3 separate regions of the Homo sapiens genome follow, and all the other regions are linked to region 3. The links are contacts of gene promoters, found by promoter capture Hi-C in human tissues and cell types (Jung and others, 2019). All regions are on one chromosome and are shown on one strand. Each heading gives the region's core, a stretch centred on a gene start or on the middle of the fragment in contact. The rest is flanking DNA. Distances are from core to core; before and after follow the strand shown. Region 1 overlaps HIPK2 (homeodomain interacting protein kinase 2). Region 2 overlaps HIPK2 (homeodomain interacting protein kinase 2). Region 3 holds the start of KLRG2 (killer cell lectin like receptor G2).

The links. The method cuts DNA at HindIII sites, captures the fragments that hold promoters and counts their contacts. A contact is called where the count stands out against the background at its distance.
Region 1: a contact is called between a fragment that was not itself captured here and the fragment with the promoter of KLRG2 in region 3, in 1 of the 25 tissues and cell types used here (adrenal gland).
Region 2: a contact is called between a fragment that was not itself captured here and the fragment with the promoter of KLRG2 in region 3, in 1 of the 25 tissues and cell types used here (bladder).

Annotation. Positions count from the first base shown.
Region 1 is chr7:139,637,378-139,640,696 of GRCh38, forward strand. All of the region lies in intron 2 of HIPK2 (homeodomain interacting protein kinase 2), which reads right to left. Among named protein-coding and RNA genes, the nearest start is that of CLEC2L, 120 kb to the left of the region's middle. The HindIII fragment of the contact is 9,022 bases long and covers 1-3,319 here.
Region 2 is chr7:139,613,539-139,616,685 of GRCh38, forward strand. HIPK2 (homeodomain interacting protein kinase 2) reads right to left here. Exons shown (of 15, transcript NM_022740.5): 8 at 748-955. LOC105375530 (a long non-coding RNA gene) reads left to right here. Exons shown (of 4, transcript XR_001745383.2): 3 at 575-719; 4 at 1,925-2,015. Among named protein-coding and RNA genes, the nearest start is that of CLEC2L, 91 kb to the left of the region's middle. The HindIII fragment of the contact is 6,188 bases long and covers 1-3,147 here.
Region 3 is chr7:139,481,977-139,485,073 of GRCh38, forward strand. It overlaps KLRG2 (killer cell lectin like receptor G2), which reads right to left and starts at 1,697. Exons shown (of 5, transcript NM_198508.4): 1 at 910-1,697. The coding sequence starts at 1,666. RefSeq lists an enhancer at 857-936 and silencers at 1,067-1,346, 1,807-1,866. The HindIII fragment of the contact is 6,160 bases long and covers 1-3,097 here.

The DNA of each region.
Region 1 (3,319 bases), core at 498-2,997, 160 kb after region 3:
TCCTAGCTTAATACGTTGCAGGCCCGTTGGTTTCCTTTCCATTTGCAAGAGTACCTGGAGCTCCTTTGGAGCCAGAGTCTTCGTGGGATGCTGTTGCTTCTGCCTTAAATGCTCTCCCTGCTGGCTGTCACATGGCTGCCTCCTTCTCATCCCTCAAATCTTAGCTCAGCTGTCACGCTACAGACAGGCCTCCCTTGACACCAGTTAGTCTTCATATAGGGTGCCATAAATGCCACTTCACAGCACTTTCTTAACCTGCTCACTGTCTGTCTTCCCTGACCAAGTCTATGAGGGCAGCGCAGGCATTCGGTAGCCACTCATTAAGCATTTGTTGATCAAATAAACCTTTATTAAATATAAGAAAGTGTTAAAATATGGATTAAGACAAAGCTCTAAGGCAGTGCAGATAAAAGAGAGTAGAAGGGCTGAATCATTATGCAGCAATCAAGGTTTGGGCATGAGGGGGCAGGATTTAGCCCAAGGAGGAGCAGAAGCTGAGGCTCAGAGAGGGGCACGAGCAACCCGGCTCACACTCACCACAGCAGGGCAGACAGCAGGAGTGCCAAGGACACCTACTTGCAGGTGGCCAACAAAAGAATTACAGCAAAAATGACAGGGAGGAGGAACAGGAGGGCTAGAAGTGGCACCTGGCTCATGCAGGGTTAGGACTTGGGACCTCAGGGATTTAGCCCAAACCTCTTATTTTATGGCCATTGTCATTACGCCCTCTAGAGCCTCCACCTTAGCTCTTATGTTGAAGACTTTATCCTGCGCAGTCCCACTGCAGCATGCGAAATCACATGCTCTTCCATCTGGGCCTCACTACAGCCACCTGCTGCTCTCTTGCCTTTGGTTTTAACCTTTTCCAATCCACTCTGGATCCCTCTCCCACCCCTAAGGGTGCAGCCTTTTCTCTGCACTCATGAGACATGTTTCAGATACAGCCTGCTCCCCTCCCTGCCCGCTTCCATTCTTCCTTATTCAAACAGACACTGCCCACTGTCTCTGTGCTGGCTCTACCAGGTGACAAGCATACAAAGATCAATGACATACTCAGACCAGATTGGTCCAATAAATACTAACTGAGCACCCACTGGCCCCACAGAACCATCTTAAAGAATTTCCTCATCGCTATTTTGGGACATCAGAAATACTTTAAACATATATATGAAGTGTCAGACAAAATCTGCACCTAAGAAAGAGGACTCATTCCTTTCCAACATTCCCAAAGCAAGCCACTAAACATTCTTGTTCTGGAGAAAGAGAGTAAATAATTGTCTTTTTTTTTTTTTTTTTTTGAGACAGAGTCTCACTCTGTTGCCCAGGCTGGAGTGCAGTGGCGCGATCTTGGCTCACTGCCAGCTCCACCTCCCGGGTTCACGCCATTCTCCTGCCTCAGCCTCCTGAGTAGTTGGGACTACAGGCGCCCACCACCATGCCCGGCTAATTTTTCGTATTTTTAGTAAAGACGCGGTTTCACCATGTTAGCTAGGATGGTCTCGATCTCCTGACCTCGTGATCCGCCCGCCTCGGCCTCCCAAAGTGCTGGATTACAGGCGTGAGCCACCACGCCCAGCCAATAATTGTCATTTTTGACACACAAATACGTTTGCATATCTGCCTCTACTATACCTCCTGGAGGGCAGGGTCTGCATCTCACTTGTCCTTGATCCTCAGCCTGGCACACAGAAGCTGCTTCGTAAACAGCTGCTCAACACCCAGCCCATAAACCCTCAGGTAAGGGAGGTAGTTCCCCATTTGGCCCCCAGGAATCTTTGGGGACTTCAGACCATTTTGCTGGGATCTGATCTTGCAGAGGCCTTGTCCCCCTGCTCTGCTAGTCTATAAGGCTCTGAGGTCCTAGAAGTTCAAAGTCAAGTCTAAAATGTTTCTTTTCATCCAGCCCACCTGAAGCATGTTGGATGGTTGCTAAAGCATGCTTAATCTTCAGGGAAGCTCATTCTGACAGTCATTCTGAGCCAGAATTTGTTTCAAGCTGTCCTCACTCACTTATTAGAATATTCAACCACCATTTACTAAGTGTTTCCTCTGTGCCAGGTACTGTGCTGGGTGCTAAAGATCAAAAAGTAAACCAGACCCTGCAGCTCTTCCAGGAGTTCACCGTCTAGCCAAGGTAGCAGCATAGCGACATCTGACATACAATGTGTGAAGTGTGTACATAGTACACAAAGATGGGGGAAATTGGAGGAGGAGAGAGAAAGCAGGATGGGCTTCCCAGGAGGAGTCTGAGCTGAGCCTTAGTAAGTGGCCAGGCAGGGGTGGCTACCACACACAGAGCAGCGCAAGTCCCCCAACCCCCATGTCACTGCTGTATCTCCAGCGCCTAGCACGCAGCCTGGGCATGTAGGTGCTCCATACACATTTGTAGAAGGAATGAGTCTATGTCAAGTGCACACCCTCAGCAGTTGCCAGTTTTCCCTGGAGCTGGCAATGCCACCTTGTCAGTACCTCCTATGTGAGAGGCAGACAGCTTGGCCTTTCTGTTTCAGAGTTTACATGGTTTTTTGGGTTGATCATCACATGTCGGTTGCTTCCACAGGGGCTGTTCCTGTTCTCGGTTCGGTTTCAGGCAGGTAGGGCTGCTGGTTCCTGAATACTGTGAGTGAGCATTTCCAGGTTCTGTCATAACTGATCTCTCATTTGCTCTTCCTCACCTTCACTGCTACAGCTCCACCCCATGGAACCATCTTAAAGAATCGCCTCATTACTATTTTGGGACATCAAAAATACTTTAAACACACATGAAGTGTCAGACAAAATCTGCACCTAAGAAAGAGGGGGATAATTTCTTTCCAACATTCTCATAGGAAGACACTGAAAATTCTATCTTTCTAAAGAAAGAGGAAAAACAACTGTCATTTTGGACACCATCAATATGGAAGCTTTGATGATTTAGCTCCACTCGCTCTCTTGACTGCACACACTGAGAAGCATTCCCAGATCATGTCCAGATCATATGACCCTGCAGGGGAATGGCCTCCAGTGGAGGTGTAGAGGCTGCAGAAGTCAAGAGGGCGTGGCCCGCACTTGGGATCCCAGTGTTCACCGGGTTGAATCCCAGCCCTGTCAGGTACTGGTTGTGTACCTACTTCTGGGTACAGGTATGAAGACTAGGTTAAACAGAGCATCATAGGGGGGCACCTTGCAGAGGCCTGGCATAGAGTAGTCAGCTGAACAATACTAAACCACTTATCTATAACACGTCTAAGTCCATGTGAAAGCAATGAAATAAACAGATCATCCCTCTTCCTTATTTTTTTTTTCTTTTTGAGACAGGGTCTCGCTCTGTTGTCCAGGC
Region 2 (3,147 bases), core at 378-2,877, 130 kb after region 3:
GCTAGAAGGTCAGATTAAGGAGGCTGTAAGGCCAAAAGTAGGACAGATATGCTCGCAGATTACAACAGGAAAACAAGGGCTTCTGACCATCAAGATGTACCTGTGTATGTCAAAATGAGGGGTGTTGGGGAGATGTATGAACCCATTTGGAATTGCATTGACTGTAACCACACAGTTTACACCATGAGGCTTGCAAAAATAAATTCTTAAGCTTTCTGGGTAAATTGTAACAAAGTACACAGTCTAGCTTCTTAGAGTCTACAGGAGAGGAGTGCTGGGGTCATGGCCAAAGAATTGTTTTGAGGAGGGGTCCCAGGGAAGTACTTTTCAGACTGATGGATATTCTTCATGGGAGCTGGGACTATGTCGGCTGTCAGAGATTGGCAGTTTTCTACAGATAACCCACACAGAGGATATTTCATGCGAGGAAAAGCAAGAGCTGACATCAGCATAACAATGAAAGCACAAACTATGTACTTATTTACAGACAGCTGGCCAGGGACACAGTCCCTGGCAGGTGTGAGAGTCACAAAGGATTGACTTGGTGCTGAGGCATAAGCCCTATTGTTTCTAGGTTGGCCACAGTAGGAGAGGAGCCCTCTAGTTCAGTGATACCAGCGCTCTCACTGGAAGAAATGAGGAGGGCCTTTCTCCATGAAAATGAGCGTGACAGAAAACTGCAGGTGCCGGAGCCCCAGAGGCCGTTCTGTAAGAAGCAGGTGAGAGGCTGTGGCTGCTCAATCTTACCTTGGAAGCCGGGGGGACACACGATGAGAGCTTGCTGGAACGGGTCAGGCCGGGCACAAATCTGGGCTGTTCCTGTCTGCAGGGGCATGCTCCGCTGGGCCACTGCAGCCATGGATGCCGCTGAGGGCTGGTAGAGTGTAGATGGGTAGTTTAGTATGGAGACTTCGGGATTGGCTAAGGAAATAGTGGCACTGGTAGAGGAGGGAGCCTAAAGGAGTGATGGGGATTAAACAAAAATAAACAAAAATAAAAAATGAGGGAGGTGGCATGTTGGGAGACACGAATCTAAATCAAATAAATGAACTCAAAGAAGAACAAACAAACAAAAACTAAGAGCAGAAAGGCAAAAGCAGAGAGGAGTGGAAACACGATTGAAAGTCGCAGGGAAAAGCAGGTCCCTGAAAACATGGGAGACAGTCACCTTGGTGTTCACATTCAGACTTGCTCCTGGCATTTGTGAGGCCCAGACAAGAGGACACACGGATGCCTGCTACCATGTCTAAATGCTGAAAAGGCTAAAAATTAGGCTAGAAAACTGTTTAATAAAATGTTCTGCCTTTTCATTTTGACAAATACACCTTCCCAATAACCGGGAAGACCAGGCGTGAGTTGAGGACTATGGGATTCCTTGGGTTCTGTGCTGACACATGGTGACAGGGAGAGAGCTGGACCTTGCCCTCCTTCTCTCTGCCCAAGCCCCATTCCATCCCACAACATGATGAGCTCTGGGTGCCTGGACCTGCCAGCCTGCACGTCCAAGCTCTGCTCACACTCCCCTCGGGCCTGGTGGGTGCAGTCCACATGTGGGAGGACAAATCCAGGGGGAGGCTCTTGCAGGCCCTAAAGGACTATGGTCTCAGTACCCAGAGCTTGGCACAGGAGCACATGCAACAGGCGGAGAGCAGGGCCGAGGAGGGGCTCAGGACTATGGGCAGTACTGTTTACAGATGTCCTTAGATGGCTGCAAAGCTTAGAGAAGTACAGGAGATGTATGCAGAGAGGGAGAGGGACATGTTGAGCCTGGGGCTTTGTGTCTGCATCCCATGCATTCATGTTGGTATGCAGTGACAAAGCCTGGCAGATAGAAAAGATGCTGGTGTGTCCAGATAACTGAAATGGAGGTGGCTTTGACAAACACAAGCCATTGACATTATGTCCTCTTGCCTTTCTTTTTCAGAAAAAGACATCACTTGAGACTGAACTTGCATGAAAAATGAGGCTGTATAAGGAAAATAAATTCCAACTTTGGAATTCTCCAGTTTCCCCTATCTTAGCCTTCATACTGATCCTTTAGCAAGATAGGTGGTTACCAGTGGTTTCACATTCAGCACTGTCTACAAGAGGTTTTGCCTCTAGAAGTTACAAGGACCAGGGAATACATAGGAAGAAACCACGAAGATATCTTGGACACAAATAGAATTTCAAGTAGGGTGTGTATGGATGTCACATTTGATAAAAAGGACAAAGTCTTATTTTACATATGTTTTCTATACTTAGATTTTGTGCTAAATTTCATTGCAAAGCAAATTGATTTGTTTGAAAATAATCACGAAATTGAGTGGCACAGATGTCTGATTTTAAGCCACATATTTTAAAGTGGGTGTGCTTTTGCAGCGTCGCATAGTCTGCTTGGGACACGTGTGTACATATGTGGGCATCAGTGTCTGTGTTTTGTCAGATGACATGACTTGTATTTCCTGTTTTCTCCATATCGCGATCTCTTCCGGAGGCTTCTTCCCCCTCAACCCTCCACATTCCCCATGGTCTGCTCATATCTAGACTCCCCCCAGCCCTTAGCCCCTGTGGGTGTCCCTGCTGGGGGTCCTGGCACCTGTATCCTCTAGGTTCCCAAACTTCTGCTCGGTGGTTCCACTTTCTTGCCAGCCACTGCTCCTGCTGCTGCTTCCTTCCTGATGTCCCTGGAATCCACTGACTCTTTTCAGTTGTGACTTCCTGGTGCCTGGGACCTATAAGGCCCTGACTAGAAATGTTCTGGTCTCTACTTCCCTTCCAGCCTTCTTGAGCACAGAGGGTAGATCATTCTTTCCACAAGACACCTTTGTGCATGTCAGCACCCCTGCTCCAAAATCCCAATTACAGCTTGATGAACATGGTATGCGCCTGGTCTAGTGCCCTGTTTTCCCTGGTTTGGCCAACCTTACCTTCTAGACTTATCTCCCTCTGCTCTCCACTCTTCTGACACCAAGATTAGTTTACTCATTGTTTTCCAAGCATACTGTGAGCACAGGCCTTTCCCTTCATACAAGCTCTCTGACCCATAGCATTCTCTCCAAGCCTTTGGGCTTTAAGGCCTAGCCTGGGTCCCACATGCCCCATTGTGAAACCCTTTCAGACACCATTAATGGAAATGAATTGCTCCTTCCTTTGCTATCACACAGT
Region 3 (3,097 bases), core at 447-2,946:
TTGCCCCAAATTCACCAACTACTCCCTCCAGTCTCCTTATCCAGGACAGTCTGTATCTTTTGTGGGCTCTTTCTTCTGTGTCAAGCTCCCCCTCCCCCACACCACAAAATAACCAGCCGCACATACTACTGGCACATCTACCCTGTGGTCCCACTCACTATCTACTGAATGGATGAGTGTTTGGGGCTAAATGTTCCTCAGTGTGGTGGAAAGAAAGCAGCAGCCTGGACCTTCCAGAAAGTCCTTGGCAGTGCAGGGATGGGGGGATCTGGGCTGCCACCCCTGCCACCTGATCCTGAATGACTTCCCCTCATCTGGAGTTCCTTCCACTGCTACTTCTCAAAGGTGCTGCGCATGCTAAGAGGGAATTTGAAAGTTCGGGAGTGCGGGTAGGGGAGGATGAGAAGGGGAGTGGCTTTACTCTTTTTTTTTTGAGACGGAGTTTCTCTCTTGTTGCCCAGGCTGGAGTACAATGGCATGATCTCGGCCCACTGCAACCTCCGCTTCTCGGGTTCAAGCGACTCTCCTGTCTCAGCCTCCTGAGTAGCTGGGATTACAGGTGAATGCCACCATGCCAGGCTAATTTTTGTATTTTTAGTAGAGACGGGGTTTCATCATATTGGTCAGGCTGGTCTCGAACTCCTGACCTCAGGTGATCCGCCCGCCTCGGCTTCCCAAAGTGCTGGGATTACAGGCGTGAGACACGGCAACAATGTGAATTACAGTTACGTAGACAGGAATGTTATTGATTGTAAGCCCGAGAGGCCAGATCGGGTTGGGGATCGGGATGGCCAACTGGGTCCCTTAGTCGGTCAGCTGCCCAGCGGTCCAGGGCTGGGCGGGTGTGGGGGTTTCGGCTACGTCCACCCGACCTGGCGGCGTCGGCTGCCGGCGCAGGTGAGCACTCACCCGTAAGCGTTACGGCCCGGGGCAGCTTCTCGTCGCCGTCCAACCCCGCGCGGGGCAACAGCGCCGCATCCTCCTTCTCCAGCCCCAGCTCCTTGCAGCGGCAGCACGTGGGGGAGCCCGGGGAGCCGGCGCTTCCTTCCGCGGGGCTGGCCCGGCCCTCTGCGTCGCAGCCGCTCTCCGTCCGGGCTGCAGCCAGCGGCGAGCGGCGGCCCCACGTGCCGCCCTGGGATGGTGCGCGCAGCAGGAGCTGGTGCGCCGGGTCCGCGTGGCGGGAGAAGGCAGGGGACTCGGGCACCGGCACCTTGAGGAAGCGCGTGGAGGGCCTGGGCGATGGCGTGCTGCTGCCACCGGCCGCGCCCACGGGCTTCACGCGCACATCTACCTGCAGCTCCATGGGCGCCCAGGCGCTGGGCGCAGGCTCAGCCCCGGGCGCCTCGCCATTCCGGGGCAGCTTGACCAAGGCAGGGCCCGGTGACGGCGGCTCGGGGCAGACCCCGTAGCCCAGGCTGAGCGGCGGCACGCGCGGGGACCCGGGGCGAGGCGAAGGCGGCTTTTTCTTGCTCGAGGGCTCCAGGCCTGCGCCCGCCGCCTTCTCCACGGCCCCGGCCGGACTTGGGCTGCTTTCGGGACCTTCAGGTTGTCGCACCTTCGCGGGCACCTGCGGCTGCTCCAGCGTGGGGACCAGGCTTCCCACGGGCTCCATTGGGAGCTCTGCCCCGGCTTGGCCTCCGGGCGCAGCCTCCCAAGACTCCTCCATCCCGCGCGCCCCGCCACCCGGAGACGCTGAGGAGCGCACCTGGGCCCAGTGCAGAGGAGCTTCGCTCTCCTCCGTCCGGATTGGTCCAGCCGCGTCGCCGAAGTTGTCAGGCCACGCCCCTCCCCGAAGGACCCCGCTGTGATTGGCTGTGGCTGAGGTTCTGCTGCCCCGACCCCCTTCGGGACACAGCCCCGGCCTCCACCAGGCACTGGGAGGGAGCTGAGAACGGCAGCGGGGCCAGGCGAGGGTTGCAGGGTGGGCGGGAGCTCTCGGGAGAAAAGCAGAACACCAGCGGAGGCTTGTGGCAGGGAACCCGGAGCCCCGCCTGACCCTTCCCTCTTCTTTGTCTCTGACCTCACCCATTTTCCCCTCCAGCCCTATGCCGGGGTGTTGGTTTTGAGAGTTACAGTTTGGGCGGGGAAGGATTGGCCAAGCCTGTCTGGATCCTGGGACCTCAGAGAAATCAGAATCCAAAGGAATTGGGGCGACCTGTGGAAAAGTAGCCCAGTTGGTTGTCCTGACAATCCAGCAGGGTTTCGAAAGGACTCTCCATCATACTTGGGAGGACTCCCCCACTGAGTAACGCTAAGAGAAAAGAAACAGGGCGTGGATAAGCAATTCTTCTTTTTTTTTTTTTTTTTGAGACGGAGTCTTGCTCTGTCGCCAGGCTGGAGTGCAGTGGCCCGATCTCGGCTCACTGCAATCTCCGCCTCCCAGGTTCAAGCGATTCTCCTGCCTCAGCCTCGTGAGTAGCTGGGACTACAGGCACCCACCCCACCACGCCCGGCTAATTTTTGTATTTTTAGTAGAGACGGGGTTTCACCATGTTGGCCAGGATGGTCTCGATCTCCTGACCTCGTGATCTGCCCGCCTCGGCCTCCCAAAGTGCTGGGGTTACAGGCGTGAGCCACCGCGCCCCGCCTGGCCTCTGGTATTTTTAAGTGCCCCCAGGGTAGGGTTGGCAGATAAAATGCAGGCCACTCAGTTTAATTTGAATTTCAGTTAAACAAGGGATAGTTTTTAGCATAGTAGTCCTCCCTTATCCACTGGGATAGTTCCAAGACCTCCCAGTGAATGCCTGAAACTTTGGATAGCACCAAACCCTATATATACTGTTTTTTTCTATACAAGCGGTCTTCAAAAGGTTCATGGAAAATTCATACTATGAAAAAAACTATGCATGGATTTGAAAATTTTTTGGCACCAAAATAAATTTGTACTAACTTGTTATCACATGTCTCGACAAGATCTAGTTTGAGGCACTAAGAAGGATAAGACATCAGTTTGAAAAGAGCTCCTGTCAGAGCAACAAGGATTCTGCTAAATTTGAAGCAAGAATAATCATCACATTTATGGTGACATCATTGATATTTTTATGAAAAGCTCATGGGGACAATGCCCCCAAGAAACCAGCAGTTTGCAAATGGAAAA